2 separate regions of the Homo sapiens genome follow, and region 2 is linked to region 1. Evidence: promoter capture Hi-C in 16 types of primary human blood cells and fetal thymus (Javierre and others, 2016). All regions are on one chromosome and are shown on one strand. Each heading gives the region's core, a stretch centred on a gene start or on the middle of the fragment in contact. The rest is flanking DNA. Distances are from core to core; before and after follow the strand shown.

The links. The method cuts DNA at HindIII sites, captures the fragments that hold promoters and counts their contacts. A CHiCAGO score of 5 or more calls a contact.
Region 2: a fragment that was not itself captured here is called in contact with the fragment with the promoter of ZFP82 in region 1 in 8 of 17 cell types (total CD4 T cells, naive CD8 T cells, activated CD4 T cells and 5 more); the score reaches 8.0 in total CD4 T cells.

What each region holds. Positions count from the first base shown.
Region 1 is chr19:36,416,094-36,420,808 of GRCh38, forward strand. It overlaps ZFP82 (ZFP82 zinc finger protein), which reads right to left and starts at 2,551. Exons shown (of 5, transcript NM_133466.4): 1 at 2,399-2,551. RefSeq lists an enhancer at 1,920-2,079. The HindIII fragment of the contact is 3,270 bases long and covers 43-3,312 here.
Region 2 is chr19:37,235,430-37,240,144 of GRCh38, forward strand. It overlaps ZNF383 (zinc finger protein 383), which reads left to right. Exons shown (of 6, transcript NM_001387601.1): 4 at 120-246; 5 at 550-645. Among named protein-coding and RNA genes, the nearest start is that of LINC01535, 14 kb to the right of the region's middle. The HindIII fragment of the contact is 3,665 bases long and covers 430-4,094 here.

The DNA.
Region 1 (4,715 bases), core at 1,301-3,800:
GTCATCTTGTTCAAAACTATTGCTTAGACAACATCGATCACAAGCTTTTTTTCCTTCTCATAATTAACAGTATTTATTAATGGCAAAAAGCTGCATCACATGGAGTGTGGCTTATTTAATCATTTCCTACTATTAGACACTAATTTTGTGTCTAACATTGAAAAACATTCTCAAAGGTTACAGACTTTGATTCTAGGCCAGTAGATCTGAATCTTAATGGATCATGTTTGATAATCTCATTAAATTACATATTTTCTCCCCATAAAAGTGGCATATTAACAGATATCTATAACAATTTTACGTACAATTTCAAAGAGTATCTGGTCCCCTGAAAGCCTCAAATGAATTCAAATTACTTCTGGTTAAGAATTCCTGTTCTATGGCCGGGCACGGTGGCTCATGCCTGTAATCCCAGCACTTTGGGAGGCCAAGGCGGGCAGATCACCTGAGGTCGGGAGTTCAAGACCAGCCTGACCAACATGGAGAAACCCCGTCTCTACTAAAAATACAAGATTAGGCAGGCGTGGTGGTATATGCCTGTAATCCCAGCTACTAGGGTGGCTGAGGCAGGAGAATCGCTTGAACCTGGGAGGCGGAGGTTGCGGTGAGCTGGGATCACACCATTGCACTCCAGCCTGGGAAATAAGAGCGAAACTCCGTCTCAAAAAAAAAAAAAAAAAAAAGAATTCCTGTTCTAGGCTGGGGGCGGTGGCTCATGCCTGTCATTCCAGCACTTTGGGAGGCCGAGGCAGGCAGATCACTTGAGGCCAGGAGTTTGAGACCAGCCTGGCCAACATGGTAAAACCCGGTCTGTACTAAAAATACAAAAATTAGCTGGGTGTGGTGGTGCAGGCCTGTAATCCCAGCTACTTGGGAGGCTGAGGTATAAGAATCGCTTGAACCACGGAAAGGGAGGTTGCAGTGAGCTGAGATTGTGCCACTGCACTCCAACCTGGGTGACAGAGCAAGACCCTGTCTCAAAAAAAAAAAAAAAAAAAAAAAAAAAGAATTCCTGTTTTAGACTATTTAAGCATCTGATCTGGCTCATTTATTTTTTACTAGGAAATACTCACCACAATTGGCTTAGTATTTTCATTTTCCCCCCATCTATAGAAGGCTGATGTAGAATTGCTCCAAATCACTACTTAAGAATACATAACTAAGGTTTATTAAGTACTAACGAGGTCTCAGGAACTGTTCTAAGAACTTTACACATAGTAATTAAAAGAAGGCCCACAGAAGTAATGAAAAACATCTACCAAATGGGTATGTGCATACAGGCTCTCGGGAGGGGACCTAGGTATCAGCTCAATGGACAGGACATTTATGGAGAATGAAACAAATATTCTCATGTCCTAAGAAATAAGAATGCATTTCACAGAAGAAAGCAGAAACACCCACTCGCCTCGACCTTGACTTAAACAGGCAACAGCAATTCATTCCTCCTCCCGCTCGGACCCCTTTTCTTAAAGAATTGGGCAGGACTGGCTAATAAGGGAACCAGGCTTTTCTTGCAGCCCAGCCTCGCATAGGGCACAATGCCCCCACCGCCCACCCACACATAACCAGAGTAACATAAGAGAGATGGTGTTGTTAACTCTTCCCAGTATCAAAGAAAGGCCAGGGTCATGGATGCCCGGGGCTAGAACTGGAGTTCACAATAGCTTCCTGGAAGCAATGCTGTGGTTCTGAAACCTGCAGCTGGACTCTTCAGAGTTGTGAGTGCACGTGCGTGGGTCCGGGTCCGCGAGGAGGTGGTGTGGGAGTCCCTTCCAGGAGCAAGCCTGGGCGGGAGCGGGGGCTCGTTCAGTTCTAATATTCCTATCCCAAGGTCGGGTCTGAGCCTTGTTTCGCTGTTGCCCAGGCTGGAGAGTAGTGGTGCTATCATAGCTCGCTGCAGCCTCAATCTCCTCCTAGGCTCAAGCCATCCTCCCGCCTCAGCCTCTCGAGTGGCTGGGACCACAGGAGCACGCCATCACACCCGGCTCATTTTTTAAATTTCTGGTACAGATGGGAGTTTCGCTTTGCTGCCCAGGCTGGTCTCGAACTCCTGGCTTCCAGCGATCCTCCCGCCTCGCTCTCCCAGAGCTCTGGGATTACAGATGTGAGCCACCTGGTCCGGCCTAGTCTGCGCGTTTCTGCTGGGAGTCTTTGGCGTGCAGAAACTGACCGAGGGCCATTTCTCTGCAGCTGGGCCCGGTGTGGGCAGAGGATGCTGGGGTCAGTCACGCACTCCACGGCCACAACAACCTTCGCTCATACAATAGTCTCTGCACCCAAGTCAGCCGCACAGACTCCGTCACGTCCCAGCCCCGGCCCCGTCACGCCCACGACACACACACCCGGGCCTGAGGCGCGGGCTCCCGCCCCTCTGCGATACTGCAGTGGCCCCGCTTACCTCTCTTTACCCCCTGGGCCGCAGCGCTTTTCCTACAGATTACCAGGACCGACGCTCCGGGCCAGGACTGCTCACTCGGGGCGCGAACCCGAGGCACAGCGATGCCCGAACGGAGGAAGCCGCTGCCGGGTCACGCCACAATCCCCGGGGCCTAACGGGCTGCGCGCGGAGGCTGCTGGGAGGGCCGGGCGCGCTCACGGAGTGCGCAGGCGCGGCCAGTCTCAAGGGTCCGCTCGCTGGTGCAGCCCCTGCTCTGCGTGAACCCGGAGCCGGAGCTAGGTCCGTCCCAGCGAGGCTGCGCTTCGAGTCCCTTAGCGCCTGGGGACGGCGCGGCAGGGCCTGGAGGGGAGCGGGGACAGATGGCTGGCGCGTTAAAGAGGGGCGCCCGCGACCGCCTCTCTATAGTGCCAACTAGGGAGCCCTGTGAGCGAGGACGGCGCTGCGAGTCTGTCCCTGGCGCGCTCCTGGGTGGGATTCTTTCACTGGGTGTGGCTGTTGGGATTTGAGACCGTGTGACTCCGGAGATTCGGGGAAGCCAGTTCCTATATTTTCCATTTCTGTATTTTTAAATGGTAAAAACAATGAAAAGGAGAACAATATTTTGTGAAATATGAAAATCATACATGTCAAATTTCAGTGTCCATAAATAAAAGTTTTATTGGAACATAGCCGTGTTTGATTGTGTACTGTCTATTGCTATATTTGAGCTACAAGGACAGACTCGAGTAGTTACACAGACCAGATGGCCCACGCAGCCTAAAATACAGTCAGTTCTCACTATTCACAGTAGTTATGGTCTATAAACTTGCTACAAACACGGAATTAGTGAATACCATTCCACTGCTTCTAGGGGAAATACAGGGTTAGTTTCCTGTAAGCATCTGGTCACATTTTAGTCAACCGATGAATGCATAAGCTTATTTTATTGTGTTTATTTTCTTTTTTTCTTTTTTTTTTTTTTTTTTGAGATAGGGTCTTGCTCTGTCACCCAGGCTGGAGTGCAGTGGTGGGATCTTGGCTCACTGCAACCTCCTCCGCCTCCCGGGTTCCAGCAATTCTCCTGCCTCAGCCCCCAGAGTAGCTGGGAATACAGATGCATGTCACCATGCCCAGCTGATTTTTGTATTTTGTAGAAACGGAGTTTCACCATGTTGACCAGGCTGGTCTCAAACTCCTGACCTCAGGTGATCCACCCGCCTTGGCCTCCCAAAAGTGCTGGGATTATAGGCATGAGCCACCGCGCCTGGCCTTATTGTGTTTCTATTTAAACACTTTAATATATATTATTGATTCATTAACATTGAACTCATGGCCAACAGCTCCATAACTCATGCCTGAATGAAGCTTATCTAACACATGTATTTTTTCTGTAAGACACATGACCGCTTTCTCATTCATAGGAACATCAACAGCACTTTAGTACTACTACATTTGGGGTCCCTTTGAAACAGCAAAATCACCAGCAAAAAACAAAAATATGAGAAGCCAAGGTACTAAATGGACTGCAAAAAGGGTACCTGTTTACAGTATGAGAGCTGAAATAAGAAGATAGAGGGTCACTTTGTTTGACTTTGGCTGAGAACATGCCTGTTAAGGGACTCAAAAAGGTTCACCGCTCTTCGGATGTCCACAAATGACCACAAAGGTGCTGCAAATATTGACTCTGGGTTTATAAAAAAGTTTTAGCAAGTAGATGAATTCACAAATTCAGAATCTGTGAATGAAGATTGACTGTATTTACTATCAGGCCCTTTAAAGAAAAAGTTTGCCAATCCCTGTTTTTATATGTCCCTCTTAGTTATACAGCTAGTGTTTAAAAACTACTTGAAATAATTATTTTCCCTGTGCCACCAATTATGTCTATAATTGATTGTACCCCATTAAATAAGCACAAAGAAAAAAGAAAGCTTTCTTTATAGAAGAAGGCCAGCTAATAACTATCAAGGGTTTGATTTTACGTGGCTTAGACACGCTGCTTCAAATGCATTTAAGATGTTTGGTTTTAACAAGGATTTTGCAACAGTATAGTGTTTTCCTTAAGTTCAATGTCATTTCTATGTCATGGCAGCTGTCACCTGCAGTTAGGTAAGACAGTGACATCATTAACATGGATGCATTTTCATGGCATGAAGGCTAGCCATTGATGGGGTAATATAACACAATTTATCAGTAAACGCTGAGTTTTCTTTGAAGTCAGTCTCTGATTTCTTACAGTGCTTGATGTCTGCCTTGCCTGCTAGTGACCAATTCCCCTGCGTCTTTACAGAGCCTTGTTACTCACTCAGTGTAAAGACAGTGGGGGAAACAAGGTTTCCCA
Region 2 (4,715 bases), core at 1,012-3,511, 820 kb after region 1:
TACAGGTTCTCAGTGACACCAATATAATGACTCATTTTGTATTACCCCACAATACAAGCATCGTAGTCTCTGATACATTTTTTTAATTACACAAGTAATACGTATGTTTATTGTTTCAGGGATCAGTGATGTTCAGTGATGTGTCCATAGACTTCTCTCAGGAGGAGTGGGACTGCCTGGACCCTGTTCAGAGGGACTTATACAGAGATGTGATGTTGGAGAACTACGGCAATCTGGTTTCAATGGGTAAGGGCATCTGTACCAGTGATTCCCAGTTCTCCTCTGGAATGTCTCCTTCTTCCACAGTGAATTTCTCAGCTGCTTTTCAGGTTACTAGCTGAATTTCTATTCTTTATTACCAAACAAATGGTTTGAGCTGAAATGAAAAGGAAGAGTGGGAAATTGGCAACTCCAGTGGGCTGTGGTTGAAGCTTCATCTTCATCTTTCTTTGGCTGTTCCTGTAGTGGCATCTCTTCCTGTGATCATCAAGGGACTGGATCTCCTTTACCCCCAGCATAACCATGTTCCATATCTTTTCTCGTGAGCAGGACTTTACACTCCTAAGCCTCAAGTGATCTCCTTATTGGAACAAGGGAAAGAGCCCTGGATGGTTGGCAGAGAGCTTACAAGAGGCCTGTGTTCAGGTAAGTGAGAAATGACCGGACAGGAGAAAGTCACGATAGGTCAGAACTCAGCTGGTCAGGGAGGAAACAGCACCTTTGAGATGTTATCCCTGAAGCTCCCATCAAGAAACTAGGCCAGTGGAGAAAATGAAGTCCTTTTAGCATAGTTGTTAAATAACCTGTTTCGCCCTTTTCCTCACTTACCACTATTTCTACTACTCCTCTCCAATCCTCCTCTTAATTTCAAGCAGAAGGTACCTTTTACTTCTCTAAAAAAAACCCTATTTTACCCGTATTTTAGATTCAGCTGCTTGCTAGCTTTTTTTACTCTCTCTCTTTTTTTTTCTTTTTTTTTAAAGGGTCTGGCTCTGTCACCCAGGCTAGAGTGCAGTGACATGATCATAACTTATTGTAGGCTCAAACTTCTGGGCTTAGGCAGTCTCCCTGCCTCAGCCTTCCAAGTGGCTGGGACCGTAGGCCTGTGCCACCATGCCTGGCTAATTCTTTTTCTTCTTCTGCATTTTTTTTTTTTTTTGAGACGGAGTCTCGCTCCGTCGCTCAGGCTGGAGTGCAGGGTGCGATCTTGGTTCACTGCAACCTCTGCCTCCCGGGTTCAGGCGATTCTTCTGCCTCAGCCTCCTGAGTAGCTGGGACTACAGGCGCATGCCACCATGCCCAGCTAATTTTTGTATTTTTAGTAGAGGTGGGGTTTCACCATATTGGCCAGGCTGTTCTTGAACTCCTGACCTCATGATCTACCCGCCTCAGCCTCCCAAAGTGCTGGGATTACAGGCATGAGCCACCGCGTCCGGCCCCTCTTCTGCATTTTTTAGACTTGTACAGGTGTTTTCTACTACCACTCCCCAAAATAATATAATTGCGTCTGTATACACACATGTGAACACACACACACACACACACACACACACACACACACACACAGAGACACACACACACACACCCCTTGCCCAAGTACTGGTCTTCATTATAGCTGCCTGTCAGTGACCTGTTTTATCAGACTGTCTTCAATGTTTCCTTTATGGAACGTTTTTTAATTTCCTGGTTTGTGTAAGGGAATCTTCCAGGTGCTACAGTTTACTAATTGTGTTACCTTTACAAATTCAAGGTCCAAAAGTGGTGCTAAAATATATACATATATGACTTCCACAAAGTAGAGTAGTATAAAAGAGAAATGAGATAAGGAGTTTAGCAGAAAGTCAAAGGCTAACTATGTAGAAGTGGAATTAATCCCTATTGAAGTAGTAGGTGGAGCCTTGGAAGTGACTGCAATCACTATGTATAGAGATATTGTTGGGGCCAAGAAAAAAAAAGGATCTGTGCCTATATTAAAAAGGAAGAGGTGGCAGAGCAGGAGAGATTTGGGATGAAGTAGGAGAACCAGAAGAGTACTTATTGAGCACTACTATGTACCAAGCATTGGTCCAAGGGCTGGGACTGTAGTATTCATGAAGGCATTCTAAAGTTCTGCACTTCTGAAGCCTACATTCTAGAGGGTAAGAGAGAAAATGTCTTAGTCCATTTTGTGCTGTTACAGCAGAATACCTCACATCGAGTAATTTATAAAGAACAGACATTTATTTTCTCATAGATCTGGAGGCTAAGAATTCTAAGATCAAGGCACTGTCATCTGATGAGGGCCTTCTTGCATCTTCGTGTGGCAGAAGGCAGTAGGGCAAGAGAGCCAACTCCTTCCATCAAGCCCCTTCGTAAGAGCACCGAAACCCATCCTTGAGGGATGGGTCCTTGAAGCCCGATCATCTCTTAAAGGCCTCACCTCTTCGTTTTTGGAATTTTTTTTTTTTTTTTGAGACAGGGTCTCACTCTGTCACCCAGGCTGGAGTGCAGCGGCACAATCATGGCTCACCACAGCCTCAACCTCCCGGGCTCAGGTGATCCTCCCACCTCAGCCTCCCGAGTAGCTCGGCCCACAGGCACACGTCACCACGCCCAGCTAATTTTTCTATTTTTTGTAGAGACAGGGTTTCGCCATGTTGCCCAGGCTGGTCTCTAACTCCTGGGTTCAAGCGATCCACCCACCTTGGCCTCCCAAAGTGCTAGGATTAAAGGCTTGAGCCACTGTGTCTGGCCCCCACCTCTTAATACTATCACATTGGCAACAGCTGAATTTTGAAGGAGAGACATTCAAACCATAGCAGAAGATAAACATGAATGTCAAGTATATATGTATAAAACAATATTAGCATGACATTAATATTATATGATATATAAATATTTTTAGAATTATATATCACTTACATTTATCTACATGTAACTAATATATTGGTATAGTATAAATATATATCATATATTAATAATATTTCTATATTATTATATGTCCATGTGTATATGAAATGTCAGGTGGTGGGTGATAGATAAGTGCTGTGAAGAGAGGCTAGAGAGGGCCTCTCTGATGAGGTGTTCTTTTAGTGAAGACTTGAAGGAAGTGAGGGAACAGGTAATGTAAATATCTGCTAGGAGAGATTCAGGCAAAGGGAACAGGAAGAGCCAAGTACTCGAGTTCAGAGCTTTTTGGCAGCCACCATTATGGCTGAAATTGAATGAGCAAAGCGGGAATTGTAGAAGAGGAGATCAGGAAAGTAGCAGGCTTATGAGTGTTTGCATGCTGGGTGCAGGTCAGGATGGGAGTTGGATGTACCTGTAGATGATTTTGGGTCTTGTGGACCTTGAATTTTACTCCGAATGAGGTGTAAATCCATTGAATGATTTAGCAGAGTGATATTATCATGTTTGCAAAGGATCATTCTTGCTCTAGGGGTTCCTAACTTTGGATTCCTTTAGGTAGAATTCAGGGAGTCCATGAACTTGGATGAGAAGAAAAAAATACATCTTTTTGGTTTTTTTTGAGACGGAGTCTCACTCTGTCACCCAGGCTTGAGTGCAGTGGTGTGATCTCAGCTCACTGTAGCCTCCACCCCGCAGGTTCAAGCGATTCTACTGCCTCAGCCTTCTGAGTAGCTGGGATTATAGGCGCCTGCCACTGCGCCCGGCTCATTTTTGTATTTTTAGTAGAGATGGGGTTTCACCATCTTTGCCAGGCTGGTCTTGAACTTGTGACCTCATGATCCACCTGCCTTGGTCTCCCAAAGTGCTGGGATTACAGGCATGAACCACTGTGCCCAGACCAAAAATACATCTTTATATTTAATAACCTCTAATTGAGATATAACATTTCTTCCTATCGTGATGTATGGGACAAACCATAGTAGCAGTAGTAGTAGTAGTAGTTACTGTGACTTTGACATTAATGGAAATCACAGATACGTTCATATTATTTTACTGTTATTGTAGGCATATTGAAATATTTATGCTCATCACTACTTCAGAATTAATGTAGTACTAGGCTTGCCACTAGGTCTTGTTTAATGTTTTACTAGAGAAGAAAACTCCAGGCAGAGAGAAGAACCCCTGTGAAGGTTCTGATGGGGAAAAGCTTGGTGTGTTTGAAGGACTAAATGCCAGTGTTGGTGGGCCCCATGATCAAGTGGGAGTGGAGTGTGAGTCAGGGTTTGGATAGACAGGCAGGAGCCACAGCATTCAGCCTTTGCAGGAGATTGTAAGGAGTTCGGACTTTGAGCAGTGGAAACCTAAGCCAAATGATACTATTCCCTGAATAGATTAAAGGGTGAGAGAGCTTGGTGGGGAGACTGGTTGAGGAGGCTACTTCACTGGTCTGGGTAAGAGTTGATTCTGGTTTGGAAGATGACATTGGCAGTGGAAGACAGAAGAGGGCAGTTTCAAAACTTTACTTGGGAGCTTAACTAGATGAAAGTTACTGCAAGATCTGCCGGGCGCAGTGGCTCACGCCTGTAATCCCAGCACTTTGGGAGGCCGAGGCGGGAGGATCATGAGGTCAGGAGATTGAGACCATCCTGGCCAACATGGTGAAACCCCATCTTTCCTAAAATACAAAAAAATTAGCCGGGCGTGGTGGTGCACGCCTGTAGTCCCAGCTACTTGGGAGACTGAGGCAGGGGAATCGCTTGAACCCTGGAGGTGTAGGTTGCAGTGAGCCGAGATCACACCACTGCACTCCAGCCTGGCAACAGAGT